4 separate regions of the Homo sapiens genome follow, and all the other regions are linked to region 1. Evidence: promoter capture Hi-C in human tissues and cell types (Jung and others, 2019). All regions are on one chromosome and are shown on one strand. Each heading gives the region's core, a stretch centred on a gene start or on the middle of the fragment in contact. The rest is flanking DNA. Distances are from core to core; before and after follow the strand shown.

Region 1 (2,689 bases), core at 53-2,552:
TGTTCCGCAGCGGGCGCTGAAGAGAGGCGGCCGCGTCCGGACGCTCTGATGCGGTTGCGTACGTTTTCAGCGCTTCCCGCTCTCCACCGGTTGGACTGAGGCTTTTAAACTGCAGTCTGCTCCCGAGTCCGGCTTCCTACTCGGTCTGGTGCCCCCTGGTGCTCGTCCCCTCCACATCTTGAGTAGTTGCGAAGAGCACAGGGGTCCAGGCAGACAAGGATGCTTTCAAGAAAAACATTCCATGGCGGCAAGCCGCATGGATCCACATTTCCCGGGCCCAGAGCCTTTGTAGACATTGCATGTGGACATTCAGGAGCTCTAGAGAAAGAGGGGGTGTTGTTTCACGAAGCCACCAGCAGAAGAAAGGTGGAAAATAAGTTTCAACCAACTACAAAGGCAGAAGTCAGCCCAGCCCCCCAAGTGTGGTCAAAGACCCATAGATCCGTAGACCTTATCTTTTCTTGAATCCACCGCTCCCCCAACCCCCCTTTTATTATTTTTCAGACAAAGCAAAGATAGAGTTCACTAGGATCCCCGATTTCAGTAAGGCAGCCCTTTTTTGAGAGCCAGAATATCCGTCTCGGCCGGGAGCTGAGAATGTGGCCTTAATTGATGAGGGGAGGAGGATGGAAGGTAATCCTCCGTGTCTCCTCCTCCAATCCGTTTAATCAATATTAATTTCATGCACAATCTTCACAAAGTTTCTTTTCCCCTCCTCCGACTCAGAGCTCAGGCTCCGGTTATCCTGCTTTGCCCTTCCCTTCCACCCTCACAGCCCTGCAGTCACTCAACACTACTGAGGCTCTCTCCATTAAAGATGAACAACAGATCATTTTTCATTGCATGGCAACCCTAAGAGCTCTCTAGCTTAGCAGAGCATGATGGGAGTCTTTCCATCCCCCCCCCCACCCCCCGCCCGCTCGTTCCTCTTCTTTTTTTTTTTTTTTTCCTTCCTTTCCTTCTTCCACAATTAATCCCTAAATAATGATTTTCCTAAGCTCGCGCGGACTTCGGGATGGGGTTGAGCGACCCGTGATGACGCTCCCATCAGCCTTTCAGAAGGGACGGTTTCCAAAGAAAACTACAACTCCCACGAGGCATTAGGCTACAGCAACCGCAAGGCATCACGGAAGTCGTAGGCACTTTTCTTCTAGGTCCCGTTCATCCCCGCCAACCCGTAAACTATAAGTCCCAGGGTGCCTCGGGGCTAGCACGCCTGCGCAAAAGCCCCGGAGCGAGTTGGGGGGTGGGGCTGCTCCGGGCGGCGGGGGGCGGGATCCGAGCGGGCTGTGTGGAGGCTTCAGACTCCCGGCGCCATTTAGCGCGGAGAGTTTCCCGGGTGGACGCGGCTCCTCTCTCGGCCACTCCGCACCCCCATCTTCGGTGACAGAAGGCGCCTGGTGGGGGTGGCTGCTCTTTTCTCTCCCTGTTCCCCCTCACCCAGTCCTCTAGGTCTCCTCTCCTCTTGCCTCAGAGAAGCAGCGGAGCTCGGGCCCCGCGGTGAGCGGCCCTCCCCTCCCCGCCGTTCCCTCCTCCGTCAGCCCCCGGCACCGGCCCGGGAGGAGACGGGTTTGCCAGGCCTGGGGCGGGCGGGGAGGCCTCGGGGAAGGGGGGGCCCGCTCCTCAGGCGCCGAGGCTCCGAGGCTCCGGCCCTTCGCCTCTGGGCGATGGGCGACCTGTGAGGCCGGTCCCCATCGCTGGGGGCGCGTGTGGGAGGAGGCGGCCGCCCGAGTGACCGGGAGCCGGGCCGCGGCCTTCCCTCGCCCGCCTCGGCCCCTCCCACTCCTCTGCCCCGGGGCCGCCACCGCCCGGGCGTCGGACCTGGTCCCGTGCTCGCGGTGCCGCCGCCCTCTGGGCCTAGCCCGCCCAGCTCGGCGAGCGGCGGCAGTGGGAGCCGCGTCCGCCGCATCCGCCTCGACTCGGTGCCGGCCCCTGGCCCTCCCCTCATGACTGCGGCGCCTCTGCTGCCACCGCCCGCCCGGCCGCCGCTCGCCGCAGGATGGATGCGGACCGTGCGGCGCTAACCCCCGTGGCTCAGCTCCCGAATCGCCCGCCTTCGAGCCCTCCTCGTGAGCCGCAGCAGCCTCGGTGCCAGCCCCCGCCGCAGCTGGGCCCAGCGGTCCGCCTGTCCCTCGTTGCGGCTTGTCGGTGCTGAGTGAGGCGTCGTCCGGGTCGGCGCGAACCCGCCCGGCCGCGGTTCCCTGCAGACCTCTGCGCGGGCGGCTCGGCCCTTCACGCCCTTTTCGTTCACGAATCCGAGCCCGCTCGCCTCTCTCCAGCGAACCGACCATGTCTGGCGGCGCCGCAGAGAAGCAGAGCAGCACTCCCGGTTCCCTGTTCCTCTCGCCGCCGGCTCCTGCCCCCAAGAATGGCTCCAGCTCCGATTCCTCCGTGGGGGAGAAACTGGGAGCCGCGGCCGCCGACGCTGTGACCGGCAGGACCGAGGAGTACAGGCGCCGCCGCCACACTATGGACAAGGACAGCCGTGGGGCGGCCGCGACCACTACCACCACTGAGCACCGCTTCTTCCGCCGGAGCGTCATCTGTGACTCCAATGCCACTGCACTGGAGCTTCCCGGCCTTCCTCTTTCCCTGCCCCAGCCCAGCATCCCCGCGGCTGTCCCGCAGAGTGCTCCACCGGAGCCCCACCGGGAAGAGACCGTGACCGCCACCGCCACTTCCCAGGTAG
Region 2 (2,689 bases), core at 132-2,631, 950 kb after region 1:
CGTACTGCTGACATTTGCAAACCCATTTCAGCTGTGGTGTGGAGCTGTGGCGTTGTACTTCTGGATGTGACCAGAAACAGTGTTTGGGAGCTCAGCAGGTGGTGCTGTCTTGGCTGATTGTGTGTGTGTGTGTGTGTGTGTGTGTGTGTGTATTTTATTTAATTTCTGAGACAGGGTCTTGCTCTGTCACCCAGGCTGGAGTGCCATGGCACAATCACGGCTCACTGCCCTCTCGAACTCAAACAGTCCTCCCAACTGAGACTCCCACGTAGCTGGGACTATAGATGCACGCCAGGCTAATTTTTGCATTTTTAATGGAGACGAGGTTTTGCCATGTTGCCCAGGCCGGCCTTGAACTCCTGGACTCAAGTGATCCTCTTTGCCTTAGCTTCTCAAAGTGCTGGGATTATAGGCTTGAGCCACCATGACAGGCCCTGTGTGTGTGTTTTTAAAATTAATATTTGTGGCTTACTTTACATCTGCATCTACTCTCTTCTTTTTAGTAGTTCTCTAGTGTAGTATTATTAAATGGATATGCTATAACTTAATACTGCTCTTACTGATGGATATTTAGATTATATAAATGGATTGTAAATTGCCCATACATTTTATGTATATTTATTGCAAGCTAATTCCCCTTTAGTAATTTTGTAATAGTTGAAGAAAACACATTTTTCATTTTGATGTGTGTTATCACATTGCCACCCAGAAAGGTCACAGCAATGTAAACTCTCACCAGAAATGTGGGTGGAGTCTAGCTTCTCTGTGTCATTACAAATTAAAAAAAAAAATCTTTGTTTATCTGATAGGAGGTTAAGCATTTGCAGTATATTCTATCTAACTGGGAGATATGCTTTGTTTCAATAGCATTCTTTTAAAGTTGATTTACGATTACTTCAGGTGGAGCATGCATTCTGTTCCCGGGCCTCCCTTAGGTGGAGCTGCTTCACCTATTTACATTCTCTGCTTGGCTCTTGAAAGCATATGGTTTTGTTATCACTGATCAAAAAGAATCTGGGTGCCTGCCTAATAGACTATATATTTCTTGAGGGTAAGGAACGTGTAACTTTCTTGATAATCTACTGGCAGTTCCGGTATATAGCAGGTGGTAAGTAAATGGTCTTTTAAAAATCTAAATTGGTTCATGAACCAGTAACTGTTGGGGTTACTGCTGAGTGAAGTGCTTTAATTTTGTTAAAAATAATATTTTCAAATTGTGAAATACAAACTTGAAAAACTGCAGTGCATGCTGGGTGCGGTCGCTCAGGCCTGTAATCCCAGCACTTTGGGACGCCAAGGTGGGCGGATCACCTGAGGTTGGGAGTTTGAGACCAGCCTGGCCAACATGGCGAAACCCCCGTCTCTACTGAAAATACTAAAACAAAACAAAACAAAAAAAACCAAAAACAAAAATTAGCCAGGCATCATGGCCACTGCCTGTAATCCCTGCTACTTGGGAGACCGAGGCAGGATAATCACTTGAACCCGGGAGGCAGAGGTTGCGGTGAGCCGAGATAGCACCATTGCACTCCAGCCTGGGCAACAAGAGCGAAACTCCGTCTTAAAAAGAAAAGAAAAACTTCATTATAAAATTGTCACTTTGGCATATGTTGTCTCTCATCTTTCAACTCTAAGATAAGTTAAATAGGACGAACTGATATCTTAGGACCTGTTAGGAAATAATTAGCCTATTTTATAAGTACATTTGGTATTTAGAAATTGGAAGTTGAGGAATTTATTAAAAAGGGGATTTGTTTAACATTACTTATGGTTTTGAGTTTTCTGGATTGGAGTATACCATGTGTTAGAAGGGGATATATGTTGGCCAATGATATTATAGATTGGCTTAATTAGACAAGTGTCCAGACAGAAGGAAAAGGGAAGCTAAATTCTGAGAATTGCCAGATTATCTTCAGGCATGGGAAAAATAACTGGAAAAGGACACTTAAGTTTTTTAATGGAAGACTACAACAAAATGATATTTTCTTTATAACTGATCATATTACACATTCTTACTGGATTTATTGAATATAAGAATATTCTTATTTCCACAATGTCTGTGTACTAGAGAACAAAACACAAAGCATATGGTCTTAAAAGGGGCAAAATTAGTTAGCTTATTACACTTTGGCCATTTAGGCCTTTCTTTTGTATGTTTGTTGTTAGTATATCAGCTGATTATTTTTCATTGACAGCATATTCACTTTAATCTTGTATGTTTTGAAATTAAGTTTAGTGAACATGTATGCCTAGTTGTATCCATGTATCCATTCCTTTGGTTAAGGAGGATGTCTTTGTGGTAGGGGTTACATTATGAAAACTTCAGCAGAATGGCACAGAAGATTGACTTTATTTTCTTGAAATTTATTTTATCCTATTTCTTCCAGAAAGGATATCTGGTAACTTAAAATAAAAGATCTGGAAGTGTAATAAAATATGTGTAAAAAGAAGAAATCAGGGAAAGGACAAAGCATATATTCTTTTCCCAAGTGACAGCATAATTCAATGACTAAGAATAAAAATTGGGTTTGAGTTTGCTTGGCAGCGAGGGTAAAAATGGAAGTATGGTAAAATACATAGCACTAAACTAAAAGGAGGAACAAGACCAATTTTTCAGGGGTGAAATCCTCTCTTCACAGATTTCTAAGAAACTATTTAAACTGGACATTATATAAAAGCTGTTTTGTTG
Region 3 (2,689 bases), core at 59-2,558, 860 kb after region 1:
TCCCAAATGTAAATTGGCTCTAGAATCATAGAAATTTATTTCTAGCCCATGTAAAAGCCAAAATAGATGTTCATTATTATCAGGCAGGTCTCCCTCTGGTAATTTTGGGGCTTGGGCTTCTTCTGATTTATCACTCTACCTTTGGCCTGGTTTTGAAGGCCACCATGCTTGTCTGCATCAAGCTGAAAGAAGAAAAGCGAGCTTGGAGGTCTCCTGGTTGGAGATTTTTAGAGGCCAGGCCTGGGAGCTGCAGACATCACTTCTTCTAGTATACCTTTAGATAGCACCCAGTCATATGACCACCTCTTTGTGCAGTGGATGCTGGGTAATGTAGTCCAGCGGTGTGCAATTTTAGTGACCATCAAGTGATCTCTGCTACAATGGGCTTTGAGGGCCCAAAGGAGGAGGACGTCATATGAGAGTGAAGTAACTTATTGGACAAATACACACATGCCTAGGAGGGTGGAAATAATTAATAATTATTTCTACTATTAACCGTGATTTTGTCTTAATTTTAATAAGAGGGTTATATATCTCTTACATATTACAGATAATCTTCAGGAATCTTAGGAATTCCTAAATTTATCCTAATATTTAGGAATTCCTAAATTCCTGAAAATAAGGTGGGATATGTATCTCAATTTGTTTGTATTTTCAGGAGTGGTGACTCTTTCTGATCCATGGCCTGTGCTTACAAGATAGCCGGATCCCATGGAGATCACACCTGCTCCAGCTGTCTCATGCAGCTTGGGAGGTGACCACAGAAACAGTGGGCCCTCCCCAAAGCCACATGCGGATAGACTATAGTCAGGACTCTTCATCTCCATTCAGCAGTGACCAGAGGCCAGCGGCCCGAGGCCTGTGCTGGTGGTTTGTTCCAGCTGCGGACATTTGTCATCCCTTGGCTGCATAAGGCACAGACCACACCTCCTCGTCTCCTTTCCACTCAGGCTGACAGTGCTCTCCTTCTGCCCCTTGTAGTGTTTCTACTGAATCAGACCTCCCAGCTGGGCTCCCACCTTCCAGATGCTTACCCTCCACACTCCATCCATCATTATTGGAGCAAACGATTACCAGAGCTTTTCTAAATCCACATCTGATGGTGCCTCTCCCCTGTTCAGATGCCTCGGATGTCTCCTGCAGATGACAAGAGACGCCCAAACTCCTTATAAGGGGGCCCCAATAGGAAGGTTCTGCTTCACGAAGAATTAATGACTTTTGTTTGTCTTTAGATTTTGGCTTTGGTTCTCTCTCTCTCTCTCTCTGTCTCTCTTTCTCTCCCCCTTCCCTCTTCTGTTTTCTGAAGTTGAATTTTGGACTTGAAACTACGTGTCATGTGTTTTTCAGGCCTCTGTGCCTTTGCTCCTTGGGCGGGTCTCATTCTCCTATCTCCAGCTGTGAGAATCCTGTGTGTCCTCTTAGGGACAGGTTCAAATACCATCACCCCCAGAAAGCATCCCCACCGTTGGAACGACATAGTCTTTCTCAGCTGTTTGGATAGTAATTGATACCTCCATTATAACGTATTGCCCTGCTAAATGTTATAATCACATATGTTTGCCTCACCTCTACGAGATTCCTGTTATTCAACCAAGAGTTCCTGTTACTCAACTTTGAGTAAGACCTAATAGATGCTCAATAATATTAGTTGACTTGAATTAAGAGTCACAGAAAGAATTCCATTTCGATTACTTTTTGGCATTTTCACTGGGTCTGAACTTTTTCGTTTACTCTGAGTAGCAAATTTAAAATAGCAAACAATTTGGTTCTGATCATGGGAAATTGCTCTCAAGGTCATTGCAGAATGGCTGCTTTTCCTAAAGATTACCTGCAATGATGGAAGTATAGGTTGTCATTGGAATAGAAAATGGTTGTCTCCATGGCTGGTAGGTGGGGTCTTGCTCCTGGGCGGTAGGTTAGAGTTTGCTACCCTTACCTTGAGTGCCATGGTACTTTGCAAGTAACTCTGTTAAAGCTCCTACTGCACCACGTTTAAACAATGGATTTCAAATGGAACTTTCGGTTTTGTACAAGTGATGATTTGTGTTCTTGCCTGGCTTCCACTCTAGACCAGCACTATGAGACAGTCCATAAGCTCTCTGTGATCATGGAAACGTTCTATAATCCGTGCTGTCCAAAACAATAGCCACTAGCCACTTGTAGCTACTGAGCCCTTGAAACGTGGCTTCTGCAATGGAGGAACTGAACATTTAATTTAAATTCATTTTTAATTTAAATAGCCACATGTGGTCAGTGGCTACCATCTTGGGCAGTGATATTGAGTTCCTAGGAGAGTAGCATTGTATTAATTGATTGGAATATCCTATACAGTACTGTGTATTGAGTAAACCTACAGTAAGCATGTGTTAAATGATGAACAGTTAACATTTATTGAGTGCCTGCTGAATGCTAGGTGCTTCCCAGAGGCTGTCCTTGTGTTACCTTCATTTTCTGCAGAGCCCCGTGCTGGGGCAGCATAGACAGCAAGCTTGACCCCCATCATTGCAGCCTTCACCAAGAAAACAGGCAGTCGAGGGAGCAATTTAGCAAGAGGGTCAGGAGTTCCGTGAAAAGAAGCCTGGCAGAGCCATAAAAGAAACTAAAGAATTTTGGTGGTGAACCAAAAGCCTCTGTAACCTGCCCAGGCCTGAATTTGGTGATCATGCTTTTGCCTGAGGCAGCCACAGAG
Region 4 (2,689 bases), core at 75-2,574, 810 kb after region 1:
TGTGGCACTCTTTGCTTCGGCTTTGGATTATAGTAATTTATCCCAGAACTCTTTCGTTAAAAGGGATCTGACATATGGACTAAGACCAAAATATCTGTGTTGGATCACTTGGGGACATTTTTAAAATTACTACAGATCCCTGAACCCCACACTTAAGATTCCGATGAGCAAGTCTGGGGTGGGTCCCTGGAATATGTACTTCTAAAAGCTTCCCCAGGCAATTGTGATACTCAGCCACGTTTGGGAACCATTAATCCAGTCCAACCTCCTCATTTTATTTATGGGGAAACTGAGGTCCAAAATTGTTAAATTATTTCCCCAAGATCACTTAATTAGTGGCAGAGGCATCCAATTATGTGGTTATGGTTGTCCTAGCTTTTTAATCAGATTTAAGCAGTTCAGAAGCAGTGCCTGTACTTTGCTCATCTTTGTGACCTGTGTAAGTACCACCTGTGCACCTCAGTCAAGACAGGCCATTCACAGTAAGTGCCACTATTAGTGACACAATAGGTGGCTACACTGCACGCTCCAAGGAGACAGATGCCAGGTCTGTTCCTACTAACGTTTATTTCCAGCACCTCACACAGTGCCTGACATGTAGTAAGGTGCTTAATTAATATTGATCAAATGAACAAAGCATCTGCTATACGCCAGGCACTATAGTAGAAGCTTTACATACATCATCTCATTTCGTGTATTCCAACTACAACCCTGTGAAGAAGGCTTTCATATTCTCATTTTAAAGACGAAGAAACAGGGCCGGGCACGGTCACACCTGTAATCCCAGCACTTTGGCAGGCCAAGGTGGGTGGATCACCTGAGGTCAGGAGTTCGAGACCAGCCTGGCCAACGTGGTGAAACCCCATCTCTCCTAAAAATAGAAAAATTAGCCAGGCGCGGTAGCATGCACCTGTAATTCCAGCTACTCAGGAGGCTGAGGCAGGAGAATTGCTTGAACCTGGTAGGTGCAGGTTGCAGTGAGCCGAGATTACGCCACTGCACTCCAGCCTAGGCGACAGAGTGAGACTCTGTCTCAAAAAAATATAAATAAATAAATAAATAAATAAATAAATAAAGATGAGGAAACAGGACCAGAGGCTAGGTCGTCTGCTCTATGTCACGCAGGAAACAATCAGCATAACTGAGCTCTAAAGCCCATTGCTCTTTCTACAGTGCTGCAGGATGGCCATGCTCCACCCTCCGTGCTCTTCAGAAAGCTGGGGGTCATTCCAAAACAATATATGGGGAGAGGTATTCAAAAGCCCCAAATGTTTAGAAGCCTCAGTTTTGTTCTCAGCTCTAACATAGCCTTGCTGCTCCATGAGGTAATGTAAAAGGTAGTTCTACTGCAACTTGTATTGTGTATGTTCTAGAACATTCAGTACTCCTACCACTTGCATGCTTATATGTGTATGACTCGATACTATCAAAAGCTTTACAAGTATTTCATCCTCTTTCCCTTGTGTGTGTGTGTGTGTGTGTGTGTGTGTGTGTGTGTGTGTGTGTGTGTGTGTTTAATGCTATTAAAATTCTCCTCCCTTTGTAGGGCAGCAGTGCCAGGACTAGGGCAAACAGAGTTCAAAGAGTGTCCCGGCATGAACTATTCTAATACCAGGTTTCAGATATGAGCTAATGGCTGAGAAACAGGAGTCAGGGATGTGAGTTGGCCCCACACACCTAGTCCCCTGCCCAGACCACTTGCGCAGTGAGTGGGTTCTTTTGTACCAGAGGAATCGCGTGCCAGGGACCCAGCCTCTAAAAATGACAGGGTTCTGACTCCACTGTCAGGCATGAGAGGGAGACCGAAGTCGCCACATCCCAGAGACTGAGTTTCAGCTCCGCCATCTGAAATGTTTCTGTTTTTTTCTTTCCAATTTGATGTTTTCCTTGGATGCTGGCCTTGAGTTTATACTCCATGTAGACAGTTTCCTCATTCCTCGTGGCCTCCTTTTCATTGCTGTTGCTTCCTCAATCGGTCCTTAGTGAAACGCCAATCTCAGTGGTGTGGGAACGAGTATGAGAGACCTCGCTCTAGGTGCTCGCACGGAACTTCCGGCCCCACAAGCTGACGCCCCACCGTGTCCTCCGTGGCTGCCTCCACCTGCCCCTGCAGCTTTCAAATATGTCTGTCATTGCTTTCAAATTCTCACTTATCTTCCCTTCTTTTTTTAAATTAAAAAAAAATGTTTCAGAGGCAGGGTCTTGCTGTGTTGCCAGGCTGGAGTGCAGTGGGACCATCGTGGCTCACTGCAGCCTTAAACTCTGGGGCTCAAGTGATCCCCCTCCTCAGCATCACAAGTAGCTGGGACCACAGGCGTGCACCATCATGCCTATTTCATTCGTTTAAATTGCCTTGAACAGAATTACATTAATAAGGGCTCTGATCTCATAAATAACCCAAGATTCCTTGGTGTTGAGGCTGGAATCACAGAGCCACCTCCTAGAAAGGCCCATCGAAGCCTTGGGGGAGCCTCAGAACTGCAGGCTTAGGGCGGCTGATGGTTCTTTTCCTCCTGTCTGTGCCAGGGTAGCAAACTGCATATCACAGCAGATTACTTGGAAGATAACTAAATGAGATATAGGGATGAACTCCTTGGGATGCTGGGATATCAGTGTTGGATTTCATAATATGCAACCACTTTTATGGTGAGGGATTTGGAAGCCAACTGCTGTCGGAATTACTGAAGGT

Evidence for each region. The method cuts DNA at HindIII sites, captures the fragments that hold promoters and counts their contacts. A contact is called where the count stands out against the background at its distance.
Region 2: a fragment that was not itself captured here is called in contact with the fragment with the promoter of WNK1 in region 1 in 1 of the 25 tissues and cell types used here (dorsolateral prefrontal cortex).
Region 3: a fragment that was not itself captured here is called in contact with the fragment with the promoter of WNK1 in region 1 in 1 of the 25 tissues and cell types used here (dorsolateral prefrontal cortex).
Region 4: a fragment that was not itself captured here is called in contact with the fragment with the promoter of WNK1 in region 1 in 1 of the 25 tissues and cell types used here (dorsolateral prefrontal cortex).

The regions. Positions count from the first base shown.
Region 1 is chr12:751,277-753,965 of GRCh38, forward strand. WNK1 (WNK lysine deficient protein kinase 1) reads left to right here and starts at 1,303. Exons shown (of 28, transcript NM_018979.4): 1 at 1,303-2,689. The coding sequence starts at 2,290. RefSeq lists enhancers at 359-458, 509-558, 1,316-2,034, 2,035-2,689 and silencers at 1,199-1,348, 1,429-1,808, 1,819-2,198. The HindIII fragment of the contact is 16,449 bases long and covers 1-2,689 here.
Region 2 is chr12:1,698,089-1,700,777 of GRCh38, forward strand. All of the region lies in intron 1 of ADIPOR2 (adiponectin receptor 2), which reads left to right. Among named protein-coding and RNA genes, the nearest start is that of ADIPOR2, 8.4 kb to the left of the region's middle. The HindIII fragment of the contact is 6,685 bases long and covers 1-2,689 here.
Region 3 is chr12:1,613,744-1,616,432 of GRCh38, forward strand. No RefSeq gene overlaps it. Among named protein-coding and RNA genes, the nearest start is that of WNT5B, 14 kb to the right of the region's middle. The HindIII fragment of the contact is 5,498 bases long and covers 1-2,689 here.
Region 4 is chr12:1,561,286-1,563,974 of GRCh38, forward strand. No RefSeq gene overlaps it. Among named protein-coding and RNA genes, the nearest start is that of FBXL14, 32 kb to the right of the region's middle. The HindIII fragment of the contact is 3,948 bases long and covers 1-2,689 here.